Linked DNA regions of Homo sapiens: regions 2, 3 and 4 are each linked to region 1. The links are contacts of gene promoters, found by promoter capture Hi-C in blood cells and fetal thymus (Javierre and others, 2016). All regions are on one chromosome and are shown on one strand. Each heading gives the region's core, a stretch centred on a gene start or on the middle of the fragment in contact. The rest is flanking DNA. Distances are from core to core; before and after follow the strand shown.

Evidence for each region. Contacts are between HindIII fragments. The CHiCAGO score rates a contact against its expected background, and 5 or more counts as called.
Region 2: a contact is called between a fragment that was not itself captured here and the fragment with the promoter of CEP250-AS1 in region 1, in 1 of 17 cell types (erythroblasts). The highest score is 5.3, in erythroblasts.
Region 3: a fragment that was not itself captured here is called in contact with the fragment with the promoter of CEP250-AS1 in region 1 in 2 of 17 cell types (activated CD4 T cells and naive CD4 T cells); the score reaches 5.1 in activated CD4 T cells.
Region 4: a fragment that was not itself captured here is called in contact with the fragment with the promoter of CEP250-AS1 in region 1 in 1 of 17 cell types (naive B cells); the score reaches 5.2 in naive B cells.

The regions. Positions count from the first base shown.
Region 1 is chr20:35,486,110-35,493,039 of GRCh38, forward strand. It overlaps CEP250-AS1 (CEP250 antisense RNA 1), which reads right to left and starts at 4,873. Exons shown (of 3, transcript NR_184017.1): 1 at 4,747-4,873. CEP250 (centrosomal protein 250) reads left to right here. Exons shown (of 35, transcript NM_007186.6): 21 at 4,528-4,695; 22 at 5,103-5,237. RefSeq lists an enhancer at 4,672-4,831. The HindIII fragment of the contact is 5,140 bases long and covers 3,565-6,930 here.
Region 2 is chr20:35,939,748-35,946,677 of GRCh38, forward strand. PHF20 (PHD finger protein 20) reads left to right here. Exons shown (of 18, transcript NM_016436.5): 17 at 1,117-1,300. Among named protein-coding and RNA genes, the nearest start is that of SCAND1, 11 kb to the right of the region's middle. The HindIII fragment of the contact is 1,890 bases long and covers 3,384-5,273 here.
Region 3 is chr20:35,893,931-35,900,860 of GRCh38, forward strand. PHF20 (PHD finger protein 20) reads left to right here. Exons shown (of 18, transcript NM_016436.5): 10 at 5,440-5,718. Among named protein-coding and RNA genes, the nearest start is that of SCAND1, 57 kb to the right of the region's middle. The HindIII fragment of the contact is 6,235 bases long and covers 47-6,281 here.
Region 4 is chr20:35,862,076-35,869,005 of GRCh38, forward strand. It overlaps PHF20 (PHD finger protein 20), which reads left to right. Exons shown (of 18, transcript NM_016436.5): 6 at 938-1,325. Among named protein-coding and RNA genes, the nearest start is that of SCAND1, 89 kb to the right of the region's middle. The HindIII fragment of the contact is 4,740 bases long and covers 195-4,934 here.

The DNA of each region.
Region 1 (6,930 bases), core at 3,623-6,122:
GTTCAAGCAATTCTCGTGCTTCAGCCTCCCAAGTAGCTGGGATTACAGGCGCATGCTACCACACCTGGCTAATTTTTGCATTTTTAGTAGACACTGGGTTTCACCACATCAGCCAGGCTGGTCTCGAACTCCTGACCTCAAGACAAGGTCTTGCTATTGCCCAGGCTGGAGTGCAGTTGTACAACTGCACTGTACAACTCTAGCTCACTGAAGCTTCAAGCTCCTGGGCTTAAGCAATCCTTCTGCCTCAGCCTCCAGACTAGCTAGGACTACAGGCATGCACCATCATGCCTGGCTAATTTTTTTTTTTTTTGGTAGAGATGTGATCTCACTTTGTTGCCTAGGCTGGTCTTGAACTCCTAGCTTCAAGCAATCCTCCTGCCACAGCCTCCCAAACTGCTGGGATTATAGGTATGAACTACCACACCTGGCCTACACCACAAGTCTTGCTTTGCTTTTGGCTTCTGTGGAATTTTTATTATTTTCCTGCTGGTTCTGTGATACATTAAAATACATATTTAATATTTTATCCAGCATTTTTTGCGATTTCGTAGCTGGAGGGTTCAGAGATCTTGTTTATCAAGTATCTGGAAATGGAAGTTGACTTGTGCTTTATGTGTATTTGTAATTTGATTGTTATTATGAGGCAGGCTTATTGGCAAGATGATAACCAGAAGTTTGCTTATTTTTGGAATTCTGTGCCTAGTCTATAGTCGGTGCTTAAAAGTATTTGTTGAATGAACACTGATTCTAGCAGGAATCAGATGTATACCATGTACTGAAAACTCCATAAATAAAAGATGCTATAAAACTTCTGAATGATAAGCCAGCTACCTACGTGGCCTTGGTTTCCCTAAAAGGATTGACTATAGTGGCCATATCTGGGTCATGAAAGGGCCTTTTCTCTCTTTTCCTTTTCTGTCATTCAGCTAATCCTCCTGACTTCTGATTGTCCCACTTTATTATTTCTCTATGATTGAGCAGGTCAACTGCCCTCTTAAAACTCTCGACAGCCTGTTCGTTTTAGCAGTGACTGCCTTCTCCTGGAATCCTGGCAATTAGAAGCACTCTTGGGAGGCCGCGCGTGGTGGCTCACACCTGTAATCCCAGCACTTTGGGAGGCCGAGGTGGGCGGATTGCCCAAGGTCAGGAGTTTGAGACCAGTCTGGCCAACCTGGTGACACCCCGTCTCTACTAAAAATACAAAAAAATTAGCCAGGCGTGGTGGCATGCACCTGTAATCCCAGCTACTTGGGAGGTTGAGGCAGGGGAATTGCTTGAACCAGGGAGGTGGAGGTTGCAGTGAGCCAAGATCGCACCACTGCACTCCAGCCTGGGCAACAGAGTGAGACTCTGTCTCAAAGAAAAAAAAGAAAAAGAAACACTCTTGGCAGTTGTATTCTTTATTCTTCCATCTACTGTCTGTCTCCCCTTTAAGAGTAATGATATTGGACACTTGTTAAGCACCTCCCCATGCCAAGCACCATGCTGAATGCTTTATTCACACAATAAAGGTGAATAAATGCATGGAGAAGTCACTCAGGGCTGGGCGTGGTGGCTCACACCTGTAATTCCAACAATTTGGGAGGCCAAGGCGAAAGGATCGCTAGAGGCCAGGAGTTCGAGACCAGCCTGGGCAACATAGCAAGATCCCCATCTCTAAATAAATAAAATATAAAAAGAGAAGTCAGGGTTACATGGCTAATAAGGGGTAGAAAAGGGATTCAGGGCCCAAACTCCTAACCATTTCTTTTTTATCCACCTCTGTAATGTCCCTTCCAAATGGTTGCTTAGCTGCTATTGTATTCCATCACTTGGCTGCCCATTTATTTTAGATAGATCTAGTTATTAGGAAATTCATGTTGAACCAAAACCTATTACCAGGAACAAATGAGCCTTAGATTTGCTTGAAATACCCCACCAACATGGTTGCTTTCTTCTAGGCATGTTACAATTTACTCATGTCCCAGTGGTGTAAAGGTGGCACTTTGAACTGGGCAGAATATTCTGTTCATGGTCATACCAGCAATGCTGGACTGTTACTTCCTACACATCACAGAATTAGCTCTTCTTGTAGCTATAACACACTTCTAACTCACATAGAGCAAATAGATCAGTTTTTTTAACACTTGCAACTGCTATTAACATTCATCTTTTTCATATTTTTACAGTTGGCTTTGGCTTTTTGCAGTCACATACTCTGCCACTGAGCTATACCCGCTGTCTTTGGCTTTTTGAACCAGAGGGTAAAATGATTTGTCATTCATGACTGTCCTGTAACTGACATTACACATTGCCGGGTTTTATAAGGAAGAACAAAGGAAGACCTCTTTTTTTTCTTTTTATTATTATTATTTCTTTTGAGACAGGGTCTTGCTCTGTTGCCCAGGCTGGAGTGCAGTGGCGTGATCAGGGCTTAACGGCAGCCTCACCCTCAAGGCCCTCCTGGGCTCAAGTGATCCTCCTACCTCAGCCTCCCAAGTAGCTGGGACCACAGGAGTGAACCACCACACCTGACTAATTTTTGCATTTTTTGTAGATAAGGGGTTTCACCATGTTGCCTAGGCTGGTCTCAAACTCTTGGGCTCAAGTGATCATCCTACCTCGGCCTCGCAAAATGTTGGGATAATATATGTGAACTACCACGTCCAGCCAGACCACTGTCAATTGTATGGTCTGGGAAGGCTTCACCAAGGAAGTGTTAGTTTAGGCGTGAGGAATGATGGAGTAGGGGGGAGAAGGGCTTTCCAGGTAGAAGGAAGCATGAGTAAAGGCTCTAAGGCATGAACATGTTGGCTGGGTGCAGTGGCTCACACCTGTAATCCTAGCACTTTGGGAGGCCTAAGCGGGCAGATCACTTGAGGTTAGGAGTTCAAAACCAGCCTGGCCAACGTGGTGAAACCATGTCTCTACTAAAAATACAAAAAAAATAGCTGGGAGTGGTGGCGGGCGCCTGTAATCCCAGCTACTTGGGAGGCTGAGGCGGGAGAATCACTTGAACTTGGGAGGCAGAGGTTGCAGTGAGCCGAGATCACCCCACTGCACTCCAGCCTGGGCGATAGAGTGAGACTCTGTCTCAAAAAAAAAAAAAAAGTGCTTAGTGTGCTCAAGGACCTGCAAGGAGGCAAGTGTGTGTAGCCAGGGTGTAGTGAATGAGGGGGAAAGCTGCACAGGATGACACTGGGAAGGCTGAAACACTAGAGGCGTTCCCATTACATGAATAAGCAACGACAAACTTACAAGCATTTTAAAGGAAAAGTGCAGGGAATACTAATGTGATGATGATGCTGGCTGTTGTGTATTGCCCGCTTTCTGTGTGCTACGCACATTTAAAGTGATTCACATGACTTATCTCCATCCTCAATACAACCTGAGGAGAATGACACTGTTGTTATCCCCATTTTAATAGATGAAGAAACTGAGGCACAGAGTTGTTTAGAAATTGAGATCATGCTAGTAGTGGTAGATTAAAGATTCTCCACCCAGGCAGCCCAACTCCAGAGCCCTTCACCTCTATCCTGTACACCTAATAGAGGGTCCTGAACTAGTCAGAGAGCTTGGGAAAGCTTTGGTTGCTGGAAGACCGCTAAGACAAGAAGCACCCCTATCCTAATGCTCTTATATAATACAGGGAGACATCCTCACTGGGCCAGGCCTGATTCTTCAGGGGCTAACTCTGCAACTCTGAGTAGAGGAGAGCAGGCAGCAGACAGCCAGAATTGGCCGCCTCAGTTCATTGTTACAACTGTCAACCACAATGTGGCTGCTTTAAAGATAACAAATACGGAGCTGTGTGTGGTGTCATGCCCCTGTGTTCTTAGCTACTCAGGAGGCTGAGGCAGGAGGACCACTTGCGCCCAGGAGTTCGAGTCCAGCCTGGGCAACATAGTGAGACCCCATCTCTAAAAATAAGAATGCCTAGGCTAGGCACAGTGGCTCATGCCTATAATCCCAGCACTTTGGGAGGCCGAGGCAGGCAGATCACTTGAGGTCAGGAGTTCATGACCAGCCTGGCCAACATGTTGAAACCCCATCTCTACTAAAAATACAAAAATTAGCTGGGCATGGTGGGGGGCACCTGTAGTCCCAGCTGCTAGGGAGGCTGAGACAGGAGAATCACTTGAACCTGAAAGGTGGAGGTTGCAGTGAGCGGAGATCGTGCCACTGCAGTCCAGCCTGGGTGACAGGGCAAGACTCCGTCTCCAAAAAAAAATTAAAAATAGAAATACATTTTAAAACCCAGATACTTGTAGCATATATAAGGGACAATTGCAGTTTGGAAGGTACTTCCACATGTATTATATAATTTTATTTTTTAAAATGAATCTCATTTGGTTGTCATGAAATTTGGTAAGATAGATAAGGCAGGGAATATTAGCCTTGCTTTACAGATGAGGCAACAGGCTTAGAGAGGTACCAAGGTCACCCCACTAGTGAGTAGTAGAGAGACTTTGTTTTTCCAATCCAGTACCCCTGCCTCCCCTCCTCACCCATTTGGTTCTAATGGTGTTTCCTTCATGTGGCCAGGAGAAGGAGCGCTCCTGGCACCAGCAGGAGCTGGCAAAGGCTCTGGAGAGCTTAGAAAGGGAAAAAATGGAGCTGGAAATGAGGCTAAAGGAGCAGCAGACAGAAATGGAGGCCATCCAGGCCCAGAGGGAAGAAGAACGGACCCAGGCAGAGAGTGCCCTATGCCAGGTGGGAAGCTAGGAGGATTGGAGCTGCACGTCCAGTCAGCGATCTCCTTACCTTGACCACTTCCTTTTCTACTCCCAAGAGGAGTGCTGCAGAGGGGCTTCCAGAAGAGAGGGTAGCTACCCACTTTGCTAACAGTGAGCAGGGTGGTCCGCACCATTAGCCACAGTTCCGGCAGTATGTCATACTTCCTGAGGGAGGGCTGACATGTACCACATCCTGTCAGCTTGCAAACCAGTGGTAATCTTTGCACTTCCTTGTTCTGAACCCATGGGCTCAGACCTTCCTTTGCCCTCAGCCCCTTCCCATTTGCTAGGAGAGCCCTAGGGCAGCTGGGATGTGCTTGTGGCCTCGTTGGTGAGCATGGTAATCCTGAGCCCACAAGCTGTTACCCCCCTACCCCTCCACAGATGCAGCTGGAAACAGAGAAGGAGAGAGTATCCCTCCTGGAGACACTGCTGCAGACGCAGAAGGAGCTAGCAGATGCCAGCCAACAACTGGAACGACTGAGGCAGGACATGAAAGTCCAGAAATTAAAGGAGCAGGTATGGAGGGTGGTCTCGGGAGTAGGGGAGAAAGGGGCACTCATTTACCCATTCGACCATGAAGGGTTCTTGGGCACTTCTTATGTGCCAGGCCCTGTGCTAGGTGCTGACATATGACAAGTACATAAAGGTATGGCACAGGCTGGGCAGGGTAGATCACGCCTGTAATCCCAGCACTTTGGCAGGCCAAGGTGGGTGGATCACCTAAGGTCAGGAGTTAAAGACCAACCTGAGCAACATGGTGAAACCCATCTCTACTAAAAATACAAAAATTAGCCGGGCATGGTGGCAGGCCCCTGTAATCCCAGCACATTGGGAGGCTGAGGCGGACAGATCAGTTGAGGTCAGGAGTTCGAGACTAGCCTGGCCAACATGGTGAAACCTCATCTCTACAAAAATACAAAAATTAGCTGTGTGTGGTGGCATTTGCCTGTAATCCCAGCTGCTTGGGAGGCTGAAGCAGGAGAATAGCTTGAGCCCAGGAGGCGGAGGTTGCAGTGAGCCGAGGTCACGCCACTGCATTCCAGCCTTGGTGATAGAGCGAGTCTCAAAAAAAAAAAAAAAAAAAAAAAGGTGTGGCACAGCAGTCAGCATAACAGACATTGCCCCTGCTCTCAAGGAACTTACATTCCTGTGGCAGAAATGGATGACAAATGAGCAGACACAAAGTAAATGAGATTATTACAGTTTGTGATAAGTGCTGTAAAGGAAATAGAATGATACAACTGAGAGTGAGTCAAAGGAGGTTCACTTTGCACTTAGTGGTCAGGGAAGGCCTCACTGAGAAAGTAACATCTGAGCTGAGACTTGAAGGTTAGAAAGAAACCAGCTCCGTGATACAACATAGGTGAACCTTGAAAACATCAGGTTAAGTGGAAGAGCCATATATTTTATATGATATGCTTCCATTTATATGAAACACCAAGAATAGGCAACTCTATAGAGGCAGAAAACAGATTTATGGTGGGGAATGGGGTGGGGAATGGGGATTGACTGTGAATGGGCACGGGGTTTATTTTGGGATTGATGGAAATGTTCTAAGATTGATTGCGATGATAGTTGCACAACTCTGTGAATATCCTAAAACCCACTACACAGTATACGTTAAATGAGTGAATTGTATGGTATATGAGTTATATCTCAAGCCATTTGAAAAAAAAAATGCCTGCCATGTGAAGAACACTTTAGGCAGAGGAAACACCTGTCGCAAGGGCCCTGGGACACAGAAGAGGGCTTGGGAAGTTCAAGGACAAAAAGGAGGCAGTGTGGCTCCAGCTTGATAAACTCAGGGGCGAGTGGAGCGGTAGCCAGAAGCCCTGTGTCAGCCATTGTAGGAGCTTGGATTTTGTTCTAAGAGCAATGGGAAACTGTTGGGTGGTATGTATGTATGTATTTGTTTGAGACTGAGTCTCGCTCTGTCACCCAGGCTAGAGTGCGGTGGCACTATCTCAGCTCACTGCAACCTTCGCCTCCCAGGTTCAAGCAATTCTTGTGCCTCAGCCTCCCAAGTAGCTGGGATTACAGGTGCCCGCCACCATGCTTGGCTAATTTTTGTATTTTTAGTGGAGAAAGGGTTTCACCATGTTGGCCAGGGTCGTCTCAAACTTCTGACCTCAAGTGATCCACCCACCTTGGTTTCCCTAAGTGTTGGGATGATAGGCGTGAGCCACCGCGCCTGGGCAGTTGGATGGTA
Region 2 (6,930 bases), core at 3,079-5,578, 450 kb after region 1:
TTGTATGATTTGAGAGTTTCTCTGTCTCATCATCCTTACTTCCCAGACTTTCTCCTGCAGGTTGGTGTCACCAGTGTTAAATACATTGCTGCATGGTGCCAAGGGGATCCTAGATTACAAGCCCCTCAAGGGAGGGGATTGTATCTCATGCATCCTTGTGCCCTTGACTATGTCTAAACGGTGTTGGGCAAGGTGGTAAGAACACAGTCTTTTGAGACAGACGCAGTTTCAATTCTGAGCTCAGCCCCTTACTGTGTGATTCTGAGCGGGTTACTTCACTTTCCTGATCAGACCTGTTTTCTCGCCTGTAGAATGGGGCCAGTGAAGCCCCCTCAGTTACTGTGGAACATATTTGTGAAAATCCCTCAGTAAAATCCCTCAGTTTTGCACATAGTAAGTACTAAATAAATATTGGCTAGAATCTATTTCATTTCAAATGGATGAATGAAAGGTTGAGTTACCAAATCCTAGAAAAGGTTTGTGGTCCTGTGGATCAGGCAGGTTTCCTAGAGGTATCTGGCACATAAAACAAAGCCAGGAAATACTGGGCCTCAGCAAAGCAACCAGGGCTAACAGTCTTTTCCATTGATGGTAAGCTGACTGTAAGCTGGCCTTGCTTTTATGTGCCTTACCCTATTTCATCCTCATGAACCTTCCAAATAGGTTTTAGTACCCCCATCCTCCCACCGAGAAAGCAGAGGCTCAGAGACATGAAGTAGTCCATCCAGACTCGCACATTCGCAGGAGATGGAGCTGAGACTTGAAACGCGTTGGTGTGACTCCCGTGTACTAACCCTTGTCTGCACTAGCCCTGCTCTAATCACCTCTCAGGGCTCTGGAAGCCATTCTGTGAGGCTTACTTTAGGCTAGGACATTGGCCCAGTCAGTAGGAAGCAGCTGTGGGTCCCCTGAGCTAGAGTGCTACCCTGAGGTAGTTGGAATTGGTACAGTGGGCAAGCTCCTGCCCAGTTCCTAAGTGGGAAATAGGAAAGGGAGGTAGGGATTTGGAGTATTGAAACTGCAGCTAGTATTTCAGGTGGCTGGAAATGCTGGCTGGTTGAAAAATGGGCCAGGGGCTATCTCCATTCAGTAATTTCCATGCCATTGCATCCCCAGGTGAAGGAATATGTCTCCAAAAAGGCCCTACCAGAAGAAGCCCCTGCTCGGAAGCTGCTGGACAGAGGTGGAGAGGGGCTGCTGAGCTCCCAGCACCAGTGGCAGTTTAACCTGCTGACCCATGTGGAATCTCTTCAGGATGAAGTTACGCACAGGATGGACTCCATTGAGAAGGAGTTGGATGGTAGGGCTCCTTCATTGGCCCCCTGTGCATTGGCATGCAGTCGAGCACCCCCAGACGAGCTGCTTTCTGAACCCCCCAGTCTGAGTTTACAGGGACCGCTGTACTCTTTGCTTCTCTTCTTTTCAGCCTCTCCCCACCTCCATTCTCCCCTCAGGATGGATGAGCCTTACTTTTAGTATTTATCAGGTGCAAGATCTGCATGATGTTGGGTCCTGCCTCACTTGTCTGATCCCTTCTGTAAAGTTGAGTATGCAGAGAGAGGGCAACTGGCAGTCCTGCTTGCAGGAAATATGTGATCTAAGCCAATCTTTACAAACAAGTTCTGTGAGAAATTAAAATTTTGACTTGAGTTTTAGGATATCTGAGGATTTAATCTGAAAAACCTCTTATTCCAATCTTTGATAAAATCTAAAATGAAGCTTTCTCCTCGTAAGCCAGTAGAGATTTGAGAATTTGCCTGAGTCATTTGTATAGCCCTGAGTATTCCTTCCAGATATTGGTGGTTACGGACAGGCCTGGAGGATCAAACCGGTGATGATGAACATGATCAAGTTCAGTCTCTCTCCAGGAAGTTGACGGTTTTGGTTGTTGAAATATTCCCTAATTATTTGTTTTCATGTTGAAAATGGAGCCCAGTTAAAAAAGAAATGTTGTTTGAGGATTCTGGGTACAGTCTGGCTATGATTTTTTACTGTAACTGGGAATATAAAACATACATGAAATAACTCAGGAGAAAATGCCATCTGTTATACAAGTGATGCCATGAGGTGTGGCCGGGACACATGTGGCTGATGTCAATGCAGAGGAGGAGAGTGCTAATAGGAGGGCTTCCTAAAACTCCTGAGACTGAAGTTGAGCTTTAAGGAGAGTGATGGTGTTTCCTACTGGAGAGGACTCAGGGTGGATGATCTGGCTAGACTGGAAAAAGAGTTGCCCTGTTGGAGGACAGTGAGAGAGACAGCAAGACCTAGGCTGGGTGTGGTGGCTCACACCTATAATCCCAGTACTTTGGGAGGTCAAGGTGGGAGGATTGCTTGAGGCCAGCCTGGGCATCACAGTCTCTACAAAAAAATAAAAAACTAGCCAAGTGTAGGGGTGTAGTCCCAGCTACTTGGGAGGCTGAGGCGGGAGGACTGCTTGAGCCCAGGAGTTGGAGGCTGCAGTGAGCTGTGATTATGTCACGGTACTCCAGCCTGTGTAACACAGACCCTGTCTCTAAAAAAATAAACTAAAAAAAAGGGATTGTAACTGATGCCACTGTCTGTGAAAAACATATTATTAGAGAGCTGAAGGAGGATATAATGTTAGACAAAAAAGTGTAGCTCTTGAGAGAATGGCAGTAGGAGTGGCTCTGTAGTCCCTGAAAAGAGGATTAGCACCATGGAAACAGGGTGAATGTTCGGTTGTTGCCACAGGGACCTTCCCTGAGGGAGAAGTTAAAGTCTACTCACATCTTACTTCCTTAATCCTCTCTTCAGCCAGGTTTGGCCTCTCTAGCCCTGCCGAATGGGCAGTGTGGCAAGGATGGTAGGCCTGAACCCCCTTCTTTGGCCTCACAGATGACCTCTTGTGTGTCTTGCTAATTCAGAGCCACATATTCTGTACATTTCTAAGACTCTAGGCCCTGAGAGAGATAACAAGAAAGCATTAAAATAAATGATAAAGCTTAAAGATTTTATTTAGGTAAACAGACTTTTGCATAGTATTTAAGATTAATCAAAATCCCTTTTTATGGAATCAACTCTTTATTTAAACACCAAGATAAACTAAGCTTTCTTTCTTTCTTTTTTTTTTGAGATGGAGTCTCGCTCTGTTGCCCGGGCTGGAGTGCAGTGGTGCCATCTCAGCTCACTGCAAGCTCCGCCTCCCGGGTTCACGCCATTCTCCTGCCTCAGCCTCCCGCGTAGCTGGGACTACAGGTGCCCGCCACCAGGCCCGGCTAATTTTTTATATTTTTAGTAGAGACAGGGTTTCACTGTGTTAGCCAGGATGGTCTCGATCTCCTGACCTCATGATCCGCCCACCTTGGCCTCCCAAAGTGCTGGGATTATAGACGTGAGCCACCGTACCCAGCCCTAAACTAAGCTTTCATAACCAAGTTTTAAAATAGGAATTTGGATGTAACATTCCTTTTTTAAAAAGCCGGCCTGCTTAGCTGGGTGTGGTGGTGCACACGTATAATCCTAGCTACTTGGGAGGCTGAAGCAGCAGAATCTAGGAGGCGGAGGTTGCAGTGAGCTGAGATCATATCACTGCACTCCAGACTGGGCAACAGAGTGAGACTCAGTCTGAAAATAAAAAATTTAAAAAAATTTAAAAGCTGACCTGGCGTGGTGGCTCACACTTGTAATCCCAGTGCTTTGGGAGGCCAAGGAGTTCAAGGTTACAGTGAGCTATGATCGTGTCACTGTACTCCAGCCTGGGTGACAGAGCAAGACCCCATTTCTTTAAAAAAAAAAAAAAAAAAGCCTAGTAAGCTATTATATGAAATATATATATATATATGCCATTGTTTTACAATTGGCCATTATTTAATTATTTATGTAGTTATATGAATAGTACTTTATTTATTTATTTATTTATTTATTTTTGAGACGGAGTCTCGGTCTGTTGCCCAGGCTGGAGTGCAGTGGCACGATCTCGGCTCACCACAACCTCCACCTCCTGGCTTCAAGCAATTCTCCTGCTTCAGCCTCCCGAGTAGCTGGGATTATAGGTGCACACCGCCATGCCTGGCTAATTTTTGTATTTTTAATAGAGACGGGGTTTCACTATGTTGGCCAGGCTGGTCTCGATCTCCTGACCTCATGATCTGCCTGCCTCGGGCTCCCAAAGTGCTGGGATTACAGGTGTGAGCCACTGCACCCAGCCTGAACAGTACTTTAAAACTAAAAGACAAAGGATATTTAATGACCATGAAAAGTAAAAAAGTCTTTTGGCATTAGAGAGATTATTTTCTTAAATAAAAAATGTTGCCTTGGTGAGCAGTGGTCTCTATACACATGATCTTAGTGTATTTGAACAGAATTTTTTCCTCTGTAACCTTCTGTCTTGCTAGCAACCACTATGCTAGTTGGAAGCTGTTCTGCATCTTTAAAAGAGACACTTGGGATGGTGCAGCACATGGTATGGAGAGGGTGGCCTGCTGGATGCTGGGGTCCAGAGGAGATGCTGTTGACTTCCCACAGTCCTGGCTTTGTTCTTCAGCCTAACAGACCTAGACAGACAGCTTCCATCTCAGGAACTCCACACACTCCTGTTAACCAAGCTCAGGCACTACTGAGTGGCTTAGACTCTTCCAGTCTGAGCGTTGGTGCGCTTTCACACTGTGCATGCCTCCTGGGCCACCGTAGTATCGGGATGTCTTTGGTGAGCCTGGAACTAGATCCAAGGTAGTTAGGGTGACCTTAAGAGGGGCCTCTCAGCAACTGTAGGATCATCTTGCAAAAGATTGACTGACTCTCTTTGCTGTTGGAGTGACCCATCCAGTCCTGACTGCCTTTTGTCCATTTATTTATTTTTATTTTATTTTATTTTTTTAAGACGGAGTCTTGCTCTTTCTCGCCCAGGCTGGAGTACAGTGGCATGATCTCGGCTTACTGAAGCCTCTGCCTCCCAGGTTTAAGCGACTCTTCCTTCCTCAGCCTCCCAAGTAGCAGGCAGATGCCTGCCACCACACCTGGCTGATTTTGTATTTTTAATAGAGATGGGGTTTCACCATGTTGGCCAGGCTTGTCTTGAATTTCTGACCTCAGGTGATCCACCTCCCTTGACCTCCCAAGGTGTTGGGATTACAGGCGTGCACGTCCGGCCTCTCCATTTATTCTTCTGCCTGTTTGCTGAACAGTCCCCTGTCTCCTTCTAGTTTTTTTTAAAGACTTACTGGTGTTTTGAAACTGGTCACTATCCAGTTTTCTTGCTCAGCAGGCCACTAGTTCCTCTCACATGACTGATCTTTTACTAATGGTTTTCAAGCTTAAGTCTGAGGAGGTGGTCTTATTTTTCTTATTTCCAAGTCCTTGTACTTGCTGGAATTAGGAAGAGAGAGGGTTCCTCCTTCTTGGAACCCCCAAATACCAACAAGAAATATGATGGAGGAGGATAAACTACATAGGGCCCAGAGCAATGGGTAGGGCGCTTTGCTGGACCACACATTCCTTCTCTCGCTGTGTTTGTTGCAGGCTTGCCACATTTCAGACACAGGTGAGTGTTAGGGATATAGTGGCAAGCAAGGCAGACTCAGCCTTTGCCCTCGTGGAACTTGATCTAGTGGGAGAGACATATATTAAACAAATCATCCCATTACCTGTAATGACAAACCATAGTAAATGCTCAAAGGAGAACATGTGATATCATAGCACCTGTAACACAAGGACCAGATTCAGGGTATAGGGTTGGGGAAGGCTTCCCTAAAGAATAGCTCACAAGAAACAGAGGATTTAGAAAGGTGGAGAGGAAGGTAGGGCTGCATCTGAGGACAGGAGAGGATTGCGCAGTAGGTTGCAGGCTGCTTGATGAAGAGGTACTGGGTGGGCCTTTCTTTTGCTGCACTCCAGGGTCCAGAAGGTGCTCAGTACAGGTTGGTGCATGGACTAGAAAGGCTACAGGCAGGCTGGGATAGCACAGGGGCTACCTGCAGGGGGTGGTTCTTGTCAAAGGTGCAGGGTTCCCAGATGGTCTCTCCCCAAATGCCAGAGCTTTAGGGGGTAGCTTAGGGAAGAACAAACATCTTTCTGTAGAGAAATACTTGTTCTCACAAGCAAGACAGCTTTCTAGATATTGAACCAATGATGATAATGTTAATTAATACCTGAAATCTTACATTAAATATTTAAAGGGGTCCTGCATGGTGGTTCATGCCTGTAATCCTAGCACTTTCAAAGTGGCCAAGGCAGGTGGATCACCTGAGGTCAGGAGTTCGAGGCCAGCCTGGCCAACATGATGAAACCCCATCTCTACTAAAAATAACAAAAATTAGCCAGGCGTGGTGGTGTGTGCCTGTAATACCATCTCCTCAGGAGGCTGAGGCAGGAGAATCGCCTGTACCCGGGAGGCGGAGGTTGCAGTGAGTCGAGATCATTGCCATTGTACTCCAGCCCAGGCAACAAGAGCGAAACTCTGTCTCAAAAGAAAAAAAAAGGCCAGGCCCAGTGGCTCATGCCTGTAATCCTAGCAGTTTGGGAGGCCGAGGTGGGTGGATCACCTGAGGTCAGGAGTTTGAGACCAAAATACAAAAATTCGCCGGGCGTGGTGGCACATGCCTGTAATCCCAGCTACTTTGGAGGCTGAGGCAGGAGAATCGCTTGAACCTAGGAGGCAGAGATTACAGTGAGCTGAGATGGCGCCACTGCACTCCAGCCTGGGCGACACAGTGAGACTCCATCTCAAAAAAATAAATAAATAAGTAAATAAATAAAGGGAGAAAATAATAACAGAGTATTCTGTGCCACTGATGATTGCGTATCAATCAGGAATTAATATGAAGCAAATCAGAGTTTATGATATACAAATAGACCTTTTCAAGACCCTATAGATTTTCATTTTTCTTGACAGGATGCTAAAACACCAGGCTCTCTGATTTTCAACATGGGAAAGCTTTTTATTTTTTATTTTATTTTATTTTATTTTAT
Region 3 (6,930 bases), core at 1,914-4,413, 410 kb after region 1:
TTATGTTTTAAAAAGATAAAACAATGTTCAGTATTTTGGTGGAACAAGCTTGGTACTATCCTGCATTGTATAGAGTATTACAAAAGAAAATCTTTAGGTGTCATAGTAAAAGATGTCCCAAAAGGTGGAGATAATAATCACACTGAAATGTGAATAGTCATACTAGGAACCTTGTGGTTGGTTTTGAATTTCACACTTTCAGGAGGACGTAGACGAAATGAAGTGCTTTCAGGGTGATATGCGTCCCAGCCAGGGCATATGAAGACTGGTTGAAGAAATGTTTCACACTTGGTTGATAATTATAATAGCTGTCTCCAGCCATGTTCCAGAAATAACATAAGCCTGCTTATGATGTATTTTATATTTGAAATGATAATGGCTTCCATGTGTTGATCACCTACTTTGTGCCAAGTACATACATTATCCATAACCTTTTCTCCAAATCTTTGAAATAGGTGGTATTCTTCCCTTAAGAATCTGGATAATTAGACTAGCTTGCACAGCTAATTTATGCTGCTAATGAAAGGTAGACCTGGGATTAAATGTTGTGCTTTTTGTACTATACCATACTGCCTCTGGCATGAGCATGCAGTGAGGCTGTGGGTGGTGGACACTTCCCCTCTTCTGCTTATGATCAGGTTAATTCCTGAAATTTAAAATGACATTGAATAGTCATAGTAGATAATATTGAGCACTTATGTGCCGTACACCTTTCTAAGCTCTTTGCATGTAATTTATTTAATTCTCACAACTCAGCGAAGTTGTTACCATTATCGTCTCCATCCTGCACATGAGGAAACTGAGGCAAGGGGTGTAGGTGGAAGAACTCGGTTTTGAAATAGGCTGTCCAGCTGCAGAACCCACACTTAGCCCCTGTACTGTTTGATTTATGTAGATGACCATTGTGTATACACAAGAGTGCAAGTTTTTGTTTTTGTTTTTGAGACGGAGTCTCACTCTTGTCACCCAGGCTAGAGTGCAATGGCACAATCTCGGCTCACTGCGATCTCGACCTCCTGGTTCAAGTGATTCTCCTGCCTCGGCCTCCTGAGTAAGCTGGATCTACAGGCGCGCACCATGCCCAGCTAATTTTTCTTCTTCTTTTTTTTTTGAGACAAAGTCTCGCTCTGTCGCCCAGGCTGGGGTACAGTGGCGTGATCTTGACCCACTGCAACCTCTGCCTCCTGGGTTCAAGCAATTCTTCCACCTCAGCTTCCCAAGTAGCTGGGACTACAGGCATGTGCCACCATGCCTGGCTAATTTTTATAATTTTATTTGAGACAAGGTTTTACCATGTTGGCCAGGCTGGTCTCAAACTCTTGACCTCAAGTGATCTGCCCACCTCAGCCTCTCAAAGTGCTGGGATTACAGGTGTGAGCCACCGTGCCCCGCTAATTTTTGTATTTTAGTAGAGATGGGGTTTCGCCATGTTGGCCAGGCTGGTCTTGAACTCCTGACTGCAAGTGATCTGCCCGCCTCAGTTTCCCAAAGTGCTGGAATTATAGTCGTGAGCCACTGCACAGGGTTCCAGCCTTAGTCTTTTTTAGCCTACAAAATGGCAAGTTTATATGATTTAACCTAATATAGATCAAGGGAAGGATATTCCAAAATAAACTATTTTTTGTTTTAGGAAAGAATTGGATGTATTAAAGTTTTGTGTTTTGAACTTCTCCACTGACATACTTTTCCTGTCCAATTATTTGTCTGAGAAGTGTGTATTCTGTTTCACATCGTGTCACTTTTGCTTCTCCTTTTTTTTTTTTTTTTTTTTTTGAGACAGAGTTTCACTCTTATTGCCCAAGCCAGAATGCAATGGCGCGATCTCAGCTACTGCAACCTTCGCCTCCCAGGTTCAAGTGATTCTCCTGCCTCAGCCTCCGGAGTTGCTGGGATTATAGATGCATGCCACCACGCCCAGCTAATTTTTTATATTTTTAGTGGAAATGGGGTTTCACCATGTTAGCCAGGCTGGTCTGGAATTCCCGACGTCATATGATCCGCCTGCCTTGGTCTCCCAAAGTGCTAGGATTACAGGCGTGAGCCATCGCGCCTGGCCAACTTTTTCTTCTCTTACCTGCAACTAATTGATCTGGCATCTTTTATATCTCTTGTTATAGGTAGAAAGTGATTTTAAGGCATTATGCTTTGGGATGTGTGTGTGTGTGTGTGTGTGTGTGTGTGTGTATAGGTTTTTGTTGGTTTAAATTGGCTCTATAACAGCATCCTTCAGACAACCAAACCTAATTTTGAAGTGTAGAGTATAATTTAGATCAAATTTAAGAGTTTTAAAATTACCTCTGATTATGGGATGACACTTGAAAAAGTAATCATAATACTTACCAAAGGTTTAACAGGCTACCTGCTTCCAGTGGAGATTGTGTGATTGTGTTTACGAAAAATCTGATTAACTCAAGAAAGGGCCATTCATTGCATACCGAATTCCTAATTTTTTAAAAAAAGATCCATTTAATATAATATATTCTTGGGTGACCAAATCTGTAGCATAGGAATGACTTAATGTGATTTTTTGTTGGTGGGAAGACATTCTAAAGGGAGTCCTCAATAAACTGCATTTCTAACACACAAGAGGTTCTTGTGGCCTGGGGGCGGTGGCTCACACCTGTAATTCCAGCACTCTGGGAGGCTGAGGCAGGCGGATCACTTGAAGTCAGGAGTTCGAGACCAGGCTGGACCAGTCTCTACTAAAGCTATGAAAAAAAAAAAACTGGACGTGGTGGTGGGCATCTGTAATCCCAGCTACTCAGGAGGCTGAGGCTGGAGAATCGCTTGAACTGGGGAGGTGGAGGTTGCAGTGAGCCGAGATCTCACCATTGCACTCCAGCCTGGACAAAGAGCAAGACTCCGTCTCAAAAAAAAAAAAAAAAAAAAGTCCTTGTGATGGGTTTACTTTTTGTCATTGGTGCCTGACCGACTATTGCCTTCTGCTTATTTGTCTTTTAGGGTCATGCTTTTATTGTCTCTTTGAAATTGATCATTGAGTCCTATGAGTCCTCCTTATGCCTTCCACCTCCATTTAGTTAGCTGGTTTTTCTTGCAGTCTCTGGGTCCTTTTTGTTGTTGTTTGTTTTGCATTTATTATTATTGTTATTCATACATTTTTGAGACAGGGTCTTACTTTGTTGCCCAGGCTGGAGTGCAGTGGTACAGTCATGGCTCACTGCAGCCTCAACCTGCTGGGCTCAAGGGATCCTCCCACCTGAGCTTTCTGGGTAGCTGGGACTATAGGCACATGCCATCATGCCTGGCTAATTAACAAAATTTTTTTTTTTGTAGAGATGGGGTCTTGCTGAGTTGTCTACACTGGTCTTGAGGATCCTGGCCTCAAGTGATCCTCTTGCCTTGGCCTCATTTATTATTATTTTTAATTGACATGTAATAATTTTACATATTCATGTGGTACAGTGATATTTCCTTACATGTATACGATGTATAATGATTAAATCAGGATAATTGGCAAATCTGTCACCTTGAGCATTTATTTCTTTGTGTTCAGAACATTCAAAATCTGCTTTTCTAGCTATTTGAAAATATACAATAAATTGTTATTAATTATAGTTCCCCCATAGTGCTGTAGAATGCTAGAACTTATTCCTCCTATTCTGGATCCCTTTTTTTTTTTTTTTTTTTTTTTCTGAGACGGGGTCTTGCTCTGTCGCCCAGGCTCGAGTGCAGAGGTGCGATCTCGGCTCACTGCAAACTCCGCCTCCTGGGTTCAAGCCATTCTCCTGTTTCAGCCTTCTGGGTAGCTGGGACTACAGGTGCCCGACACCACGCCCGACTAATTTTGTTGTATTTTTAGTAGAGACAGGGTTTCACCATGTTAGCCAGGATGGTCTCAATCTCCTGACCTTGTGATCTGCCTGCCTCGGCCTCCTAAAGTGCTGGGATTACAGGTGTGAGCCACCACGCCCGGTGTTTTTTTTTTGTTTTGTTTTGTTTTTTGAGACAGAGTCTTGCTCTGTCACCCAGGCTGTAGTGCGGTGGTGTGATCTTGGCTCACTGCAACCTCCGCCTCCCAGGTTCAAGCGATTCTTCTGCCTCAACCTCCCGAGTAGCTGGGATTACAGGCATGTGCCACCATGCCCAGCTAATTTTTGTATTTTTAGTAGAGATGGGGTTTCACCATGTTGTCCAGGCTGGTCCGAACTCCTGACCTCAGGTGATCCGCCCACCTCGGCCTCCCAAAGTGCTGAGATTACAGGCGTGAGCCACTGCACCCACCAAATCTGGATCCTTTTGATCAGACAAAGTATATTGTAAAACAAAGTACGTGTTGAAATCTCAAAGACTCAATACTAAAACCTTTGTAACTGTTACACTTTCCTTGCACAAAAACTGACGTAAAATCTCTTAGGTTTCATAGAGAGATACTGAGGAATGTTCCCTATTTCCGTCCACACAGATAGGTACCAGGATGGTAGTAAATGTAAGTCTGATCCAACTCATAAGTGCTAGCTTGAGATCCTTGATTTTATTTATTTTATTTATTTTTTATTTTTTTTGAGACAGAGTCTGGCTCTGTTGACCAGGGTGGAGCACAGTGGCATGATCTCAGCTCACTGCAACTTCTGCCTTCGGGTTCAAGCAATTATCGTGCCTCAGCCTCCCGAATAGCTAGAATTACAGATGTGCTCCACCATGCCTGGCTAATTTTTTTGTTTGTTTGTTTTTTGTTTGAGTCAAAGTCTTGCTCTTGTCTCCCAGGCTGGAGTGCAATGGCATGATCTCGACTTACTGCAACCTCCGCCTCCCGGGTTCAAGCAATTCTCCTGCCTCAGCCTCCCAAGTAGCTGGGATTACAGGCACCTGCCATCATGCCTGGCTAATTTTTGTATTTTTAGTAGAGACAGGGTTTCACCATATTGGCCAGGCTGGTCTCGAACTCCTGACCTCAGGCGATCTGCCTCCCTTGGCCTCCCAAAGTGCTGGGATTACAGGTGTGAACCACCATGCCCAGCCCATTTCTTTTGTATTTTTAATAAAGATGGGGTTTTACCATGTTGGTCAGGCTGGTCATGAACTCCTGATCTCGAGTGATCCACCTGCCTTGGCCTCCCAAAGTACTAGGATTACAAGTGTGAGCTGCTCTGCTTGACCTGAGATCCTTTATTTTTATTTTTATTTTTATCTTTTTAAGGATTTTTCCTTAAAGTATATGAAACCCTGAAAACTTGTACGACTGTTTAAAATAAACATGTTGATTTCTTCTTCCTAAAGATGAATCACAATTGAGTCTTATTTGACCTGAAGTTGTTTTCATTCTCTCTAAACAGTAATTTGAGGAGGTAATGGCAGTCTGATGTCTCAGGCTACATTTGCACGCTAGTCTTTCACCCTCAGTTGTCATGTGTTAATGCATGTTTTGTAATAACTGGGATAAATACAAGGAACCTTTGCTTTTGTTTTTATTTTTTTCAGTAACAAATACTTTTAAGAAAACAGATGATTTTGGGTCATCTAATGCACCAGCTGTCGACCTAGACCATAAGTTTAGATGCAAAGTTGTGGACTGTTTAAAATTTTTCCGCAAAGCCAAACTGTTGCACTATCACATGAAGTATTTCCATGGAATGGAGAAGTCACTGGAGCCAGAAGAGAGCCCGGGAAAGAGGCATGTCCAAACCAGGGGCCCTTCAGCTTCAGACAAGCCCAGCCAGGAGACCCTGACCAGGAAGCGGGTCTCTGCCAGTTCCCCAAGTAAGTATCTTCATTCTTCATTGTGTCATGGATGGCTCAGTTGCTTGGCCACAGTGCTTGTGTTTTCTGACACACAAAGCAGGCATTAGGTTTGTCTGTTCCAGTTGAATCCCACAGGACTGAACATATTAAGTGATCCTCTGGGCTGTGCCACGGAGCTGTGGCCTTCCTACAGGAAGCAGGAACACCTAACTGAGAATTACCTTGAAAAATCGCTTAGCCTCTGAAGGCCTTGCTGCTTCCAGTATGAGTGGGGACAGTCAAGCAAAGGGACCTTATTCAGAAGCCAGCAGGAGAACTCGTGCTCAGAGCAGCATGGGTGCCATCGTCCCACTCTCCCAAACCTGTGCGTTTTCCTTGCCAGCAGCACAAAAGAGCACGATAACCAAAAGGTGATATGTGATTCTACTGCTGGGTCCAAATGTGAATCCTGTTTCATCTTAAGTGCAACTGAAGATATTTATAATAGCACTGTTTGTTTTGCATAGAAACCATAATAGGGGTTACCATAAAATCTCATTTTATAACTTATTACAGAGAACCTTTTAGGAAATATCTTCTAAAGCTTACAGAAATTGAAAAATTACATGTTTCCAGGGGAATTTCAGAAGAATTAATGGATTTCCAATAAATTATATAATCTTCCCAGCTTTTTACTTGCTATTGTAATATCACTACCTACTTCTTGGCTTAGAGGTTTTCTATTAAAATGTGTAGGTCTTAAATGGTATATGGAACTCCTAGGACATCTGGCAGTGTTCCCAGTAGAGTATACAATCAGGTTTCAGGACAGGGGCAGAGCCATGCAGACTAAGGTGAACTCTGACCCTCCGAGGGGTCAACCTTCATTTATGCTGTCAAGACTTTGTATGTGCTGTATTATCCATTAAAAATATAATGTGAGGCCAGGCACAGTGTCTCATGCCTATAATTCCAGTGCTTTGGGAGGCCAAGGCAGGAGGATCACCTGAGGTCAGGAGTTCGAGACCAGCCTTACTTAACATGGTGAAACCCCGTCTCTACTAAATATACAAAAAAATTAGCCGGGCTTGGTGGTGCATGCCTGTAATCCGAGCTACTCTGGAGGTTGAGGCAGGAGAATTGTTTGAACCCAGGAGGCAGAGGTTGCAGTGAACCGAGATCATGCCACTGCACTCCAGCCTGGGCGACTGAGTGAGACTCCATCTCAAAACAACAACCAAATAAGCTAGC
Region 4 (6,930 bases), core at 1,315-3,814, 370 kb after region 1:
TTTTTAGTGTGAATTTTAAAGAATGTAATTTAGGGAGAACATAACTAAGAAGCGGTATTTCCTACCAATAGACAAAAACTCCAAGTAGCTCAGGAACATAGTAGGTGGCTTGTTGAACTGAGCACAGCCTTTACCTGATAGAGAAAGCAGAGACCCTGGTTCTGGGTTGGATAATCTTTATAGTTTTCCTGTTAAGCTTCCAGTTATCAGTTTTTGTTTTTCTATAGACAAGACATCAGCATTTGCTGGCAAACTGAACCAGGCCTCTGAAAAGCTCTGGGTCAGTATAGTCATGCTGGGGATAAGGACAGAGCATGAAGGCATTTTCTTCGAACACCTTTGTCAGAAAGATTGCTTTCCAGAATTTTAAGGCCAGGCATGGTGACTCATGCCTACAATCCCAATACTTTAGGAGGCTGAGGCAGGAGGATTGCTTGAGCCCAGGAGTTTGAGACCAGCCTGGGCAACATAGGGAGACCCTATTGCTACAAAAAATAACAATAAAAAACTTAGCTGGGTGTGGTGAAACATGCCTGTGGTCCCAGCTACTCAGAAGGCTGAGATGGGAGGATCGCTTGGGCCTGGGAGGTCGAGGCTGCATGAGCCATGATTGTGCCACTGCATTCCAGCCTGGGCAACAGAGAGAGACTCTGTCTCAGAAACAAAAACAAACAAAAACCCAGAATTTTATTTTCTAGTGACTTATTCGTCATAATAAGGGAGATTGCACTGTCTCCGGAATAATTGAATTGTTTTAAGTTTAAGGATTGGTTCTCAACTCAGTACAGGTGGCTGTTGTCAGTGGTGCTTTGTATATGTGATCTGGCGTATGTCTTGTTTTAATTTCTTTGTTTGTCTTCATAAGTTTGTAAGAAACTCCTAATTTTGTATTTGCAAGTAATCACGAAGTGTTTCATCGCTATTTTGCTCATTTTAGAATATTGTGGGTAATGCTAGGCCTAAAGAAACAGATCACAAAAGTCTTTCATCATCTCCTGATAAACGAGAGAAGTTTAAAGAACAGAGAAAAGCAACAGTGAATGTGAAGAAAGACAAAGAAGATAAACCCTTAAAGACAGAAAAGCGACCCAAGCAGCCTGATAAAGAAGGAAAGTTAATCTGTTCTGAAAAGGGGAAAGTGTCAGAGAAAAGTCTTCCCAAGAACGAGAAGGAAGACAAGGAAAACATTTCCGAAAATGACAGAGAGTATTCTGGAGATGCCCAAGTGGATAAGAAACCTGAAAATGACATTGTGAAGAGTCCACAAGAAAACTTGAGGGAACCCAAAAGAAAACGAGGCAGACCCCCTTCCATAGCTCCTACTGGTGAGTTTTTTAAGTGGGCTCTGCAATGGGCAATGCCAGAGTATTCTTCTGTGGCCCTTTGTGGTTCTTTGTAACTTGTGTACGTCAATCGTTTATTTTTGTGACTGATTTTGAATTGTCTTATGATCTGGAAACAAGTTGTGTTCATGAAGCTGAATTTAAGTGAGGTACATATCCAAGTGAATCTAAGTTGGGAAGCATGTTCATAACTGAGTTTGCTAAAGTAGTGGTTAACTGTTGACTAGATACTTCAGCTTATATGATAAAACCTGATAAACCGAGGCCTTTTGCTTATGCTTTTTCAAATGATCTCAGTTTAAGTCAGCTTAATAGAATCTAGAATCAGGAAATAGAGTTTTAATGAGACAGACATGAAAGAAAAGTAATAGTAAAAAGGTATGGGCTTCTGAAGGAGATGGGGACAAAGGAACATTGAAACTAGAAAAGCATGGGTGCATTTTGAAATTGAGCTCCTTGGAGAGTGATTATTGATTAGAAATTTTCACAGTCTAAATAAAAAGCCGAGATGGCTAATTGGTAAGAGTCAAGGTTAGAGGGTATAGATTTAGGGAAGAATGCAGTTATTAAAAAACTTAAAATTTGGAATTCTTCTAGAATAACCAAGAATGAAACAAGCCCTGATTTCTTCCTAAGCCAAACACTCGTTCTCCAAATCAATTCAATGGCATGAAGAGGCCCCCCCGGTTCTCTGGACTGAGCCTGCCATTGATTAATATGTGCAGTGACCTTCAGACATTCTTGATTGTGCATTCTTTATGTGTTCAGTTGAAAAACTGTGAATCCCCTAGCACGTTTTAAAGCAGTATTTATCTTTTTCTCACAAGTTTAAATAGCTGCAGTGGATACATTTAAAATACAAAACATGAAGGCTGAGTGCGTTGGTGCATGTTTGTTGTCCCAGCTACTCAGGAGGCTGAGGTGGGAGGATTGCTTGAGCCCAAGAATTCCAAACCAGCCTGGACAATGTAGTGACACCCCATCTCAAAACACACACACACACACACACACACACACACACACACACACACACAAATATTTTCATCAAAACTGTGGAACTACAGAGCAAACCTTTTCATTATTCCCTAACGATGTAGAGAATGCAAAGCCAGTCTTCCTTATCAAATCAGACTATCAGACTTAATTTCTGTGGAAAAAAATTTAACTTACTTCACATAAGTGTATTAGTACTCATTGTAAGATAGGAAATTATATAATAGGTTGATTTGTCTCTATATGAAATAAGGGATCTTTCCCTGTAGTGCTTGTAACTGGGTTTTGCCCTCAAGAGCTGAGGGTGCTGCAATTGTCTGTAGGCCTAAATAGGGCCTAGACCTCTGCTGTCTAGTATGGTAGCCACTAGCTGCATGGGGCTATTGACTACTTGAAATGTAGCTAGTCTGAATTGAGATATGCTGTAAGTGTAAGTAAATGCTAGATTTCAAATACTTAGTTCAAAAAAAGAATGTAACACACCTCGATTTTAAAATACTGATTACGGCTGGGCCTGTAATCTCAGTGGTTTGGGAGGTCCAGGCGGGTGGATTACTTGAGGTTAGGAGTTTGAGACCAGCCTGGCCAACATGGTGAAACCCCGTCTCTACTGAAAAAATATAAAGACAAATTAGCCAGGCTTGGTGGTGGGTGCCTGTAATCCCAGCTACTCAGGAGGCTGAGGCAAGAGAATTGCTTGAAACCCAGGAGGCGGAGGTTGCAGTGAGCTGAGATCGGGCCACTGCATTCCAGCTTGGGCGACAAAACAAAAAAAAATTGATTCCATGTTGAAATGTTTTTAGAGGCTGGGTGCAGTGCCTCATCCCTGTAATCATGCCAGCACTTTGGGAGGCTGATGAGGGAGGATCACTTGAGTCCAGAAGTTCGAGACCAGCCTTGGCAACATAGTGAGACCTCATCTCTACAAAAAATGAAAAAATTGGCTGAGAGTGGTGGCACGTGCTTGTAGTCCCAGCGATTCCAGAGTCTGAGGCAGGAAGGTTGCTGAGCCCAGTTTAAAAAAAAAATTTTTTTTAAAGTACTGGATTAAATAAAATAGTATTTAAATTAACTTTTTAAGTTGTGTTTTTTTTTTTTTTTTTTTTTTTTTGACAGGGTCTCACTCTGTTACCTAGGCTGGAGTGCAGTGGCGTGATTGTGGCTCACTCCATTCTCCACCTCCTAGGCTCAAGCGATGCTCCTATCTCAGCCTCCTGAGTAGCTGGGACTACAGGCACATGCCACCATGCCCAGCTAATTTATTTCTTGTAGAGACAGGGTTTCACTATGTTGCCCAGGTTTGTCTCAATCTCTGGGCCTCAAGCAAGCAATCCTGCCTTGGCCTCTGAAAGTGCTGAGATTACAGGCATGAGCCACCATGCCTGGCACTTAAAAACCAAACCCTCTTATGTGATGAGTAAAAAATTCAAAATTGGCCAGGCGTGGTGGCTCAGGAATTTGAGACCAGGCTGGCCAACATGGTGAAATCCCGTCTCCACTAAAAATACAAAAATTGGCCGGGCATGGTGGTTCATGCCTGTAATCCCAGCATTCTGGGAGACCAACATGGGTGGGTCACCTGAGGTCAGGAGTTCGAGACCAGCCTGGCCAACATGGTGAAACCCCCATCTCTACTAACAACACAAAAATTAGATGAGCGTGGTGGCATGCACCTGTAATCCCACCTACTTGGGAGGCTGAGGCAGGAGAATCTCTTGAACCCAGGAGGCAGAGGTTACAGTGAGCCGATATCGCACCACTGCTCTCCAGCTTGGGTGACAGAGCGAGACTCCATCTCAAAAAAACAAAAAATAATAAAATAAAATAAAATTACATGTGGCTTGCACTCTTAGTATATTTCTGTTGGACAGCACTGACTTTATGTTCACTGGCTTTCTCAACTGAGTTTTGGGAGAGAAGCCACAATACCCAAGGCATCCTTGATCTGTGATGGATTGACCTTAGTGCATTGAGAATGGTACTAGCTGTATACCACCCTTAGGAAAACAGAGAAAATATATCTCTGTTCAGATGGGGAACCCCAGTTGAGAAAATCTGGAAGTTTTAAACCTCCAGGCTGAGCACCATGTTAAGATGTGGGATGAGTGAGAGGCAGGCCCTTTTATGTAAAGTGGGAGAAGGGCAGTTAAAGGCAGTTATTATACAAGGAGAGGTGGAAAATGTAAACTGGCAGAAATCTGACATGTCCTTAGGCAGAAATCTGACATGTCCTTAGCTCAGTTTAGGAAAGAGTATGTATGAGAATTGAGTGTTTTGAAACTAATTCTCCTTTAGGTATTCATGCCCTGGCTTATACCCTCCAGAAGGTATGTACAGAAGTAGTTGTACCCCAACAAGCAGACTGCTCCTTTGAAGCCACATGACTCCATTGAGATAAGAACAAGGACATTCAGTTTTTATATTTTTATAAGTGTAGGATTTCATAATGAGTAGGATAAATTTAATATAGAAGGGATGTTTTCTAAGTTTATGGTTAATCCTTGCCCAAGGCATTTGTGAAAACAGATTCCAGCCATGCCTCAGTTCTTTTCCAGTCAGACTGTCTGGATGGGAATCTGGGAATATGAATTGTTAACAAGCTTCCCAGATGACTTATACTGTAAGAAGAGTTTGGGAAACACTCAAGTTCTGTACAGTCAGCTCCTATTTATATACGGTATCAAAGGGAAGAAGACTTGCCAAGTATCCCATATATTGTTCACATCCCCTTAAAACATTACTTGGAATAAGTTCATTGATTTGTAGAGCCTTCCTTGAGCACCCTAGATTGTATAGACTTGATTGGGAACAGGATCTGAGCTATTTAGAGAGGGTTGTTTATATATATTTTAATTTTTATTTTTTTGAGATGGAGTCTTACTCTGTCTCCCAGGCTGGAGTGCAGTGGCATGATCTCGGCTCATTGTAACCACCGCCTCCTGGGTTCAAGTGATTCTTGTGCCTCAGCCTCCCAAGTAGCTGGGACTACAGGCATGTGCCACCATGCCTGGCTAATTTTTTGTATGTTTAGTAGAGACAGGGTTTCACCATGTTGGCTATGCTAGTCTTGAACTCCTGAGCTCAAGTGATCTGCCTGTCTCTGCCTCCCAAAGTGCTGGGATTACAGGCGTGAGCCACCACACCCAGCCTGTTTGTATTTATGTTTAACTTGGAATGTGTGGGATTTCCAAGTTCTGCCAGTTGGAACAAAATAATATTGGCCCATTGGGAAGTTGGAACACAGGAAGAGCCTCAGAGTTCAACAGTCTTCTCTGGTTTGCTTCCTCACACTTCAGGCCGTGTCTTGTTGAGCCATTTGACCGACCTGAAGCTACAGGTCTTAGATGAGTCTTTTCTGTCCCTCTTCCCCTCTTCTCATCTTTCTCCCTTCCCTTCCTCTTTTCCTCCCATTTACTTCTCTTCTTCCCTCTTCCTTTCCTCCTTCCTCTTCTCTCTCCTCCTTTCACCCTTCCTGAGACCCCTTAGCTCTGCCTTCCTGCCCAACTTCCCAGTTTCTTTCTTCTGCCTGCCTTTTCAATTCTCATCTTTTCTGATTTGGGGTAAGCTTCTTAGGTGGTAGGTTTAAAACAAAATAGTAAGGGCTGGGCATGGTGGCTCACGCCTGTAATCTCAGCACTTTGGGAGGTCAAGGCAGGCAGATCACCTGAGGTCAGGAGTTCGAGAACAGCCTGACCAACATGGAGAAACCCTGTCTCTACTAAAGATACAAAATTAGCCAGGTGTGGTGGCGCATGCCTGTAATCCCAGCTACTTGGGAGGCTGAGGCAGGAGAATCACTTGAACCCGGGAGGCAGAGCTTGCGGTGAGCTGAGATCGCACCATTGCAGTCCAGCCTGGGCAACGAGAGCAAAACTCTATCTCAAAAAAAAGTTAATAGTAAATACTATGCTGGGCAGGTGGCTCACACCTGTAATCTCAGCACTTTGGGAGGCTGAGGCGGGCAGATCACTTGATGTCAGGAGTTCAAGACCAGCCTGGCCAACATGGTGAAACCCCATCTCTATTAAAAATACAAAAAAAAAAAAATTTTGCTAGGTATGGCAGGTGCCTGTAATCCCAGCTACAGGGAAGGCTGAGGCAGGACAATCACTTGAACCCAGGAGGCAGAGGTAGCAGTGAGCCGAGATCGTGCCACTGCACTCTAGCCTGGGCAACAGACCCAGACTTCATCTCAAAAAAACAAGCAAGCAAGCAAGCAAGCAAGCAAACAAAATCTAAATAGTAAGTACTCTTCAAAGGCTTAGCGTCTGTACTGCTAAATTATGTCAGAGCTGGGTTTGCTGGGGACCAGCAGCCTTGCCTGAAACATTGACTGTTAACTAGCATAGTCTCCCAAGAATTTTTTTAGGATTTTGTTTAAGAAAATACAAATTCTCGGCTGGGTCTCATGGCTCATGCTTGTAATCCCAGAACTTTGGGAGGACGAGGCAGCTGGATCACTTGAGGTCAGGAATTTGAGACCAGCCTGACCAACATGGGGAAACCGTGACTCTACTAAAATTACAAAAATTAGCCGGGTGTGGTGTCGGGTGCCTGTAATCCCACCTACTCCGGAGGCTGAGGCAGGAGAATC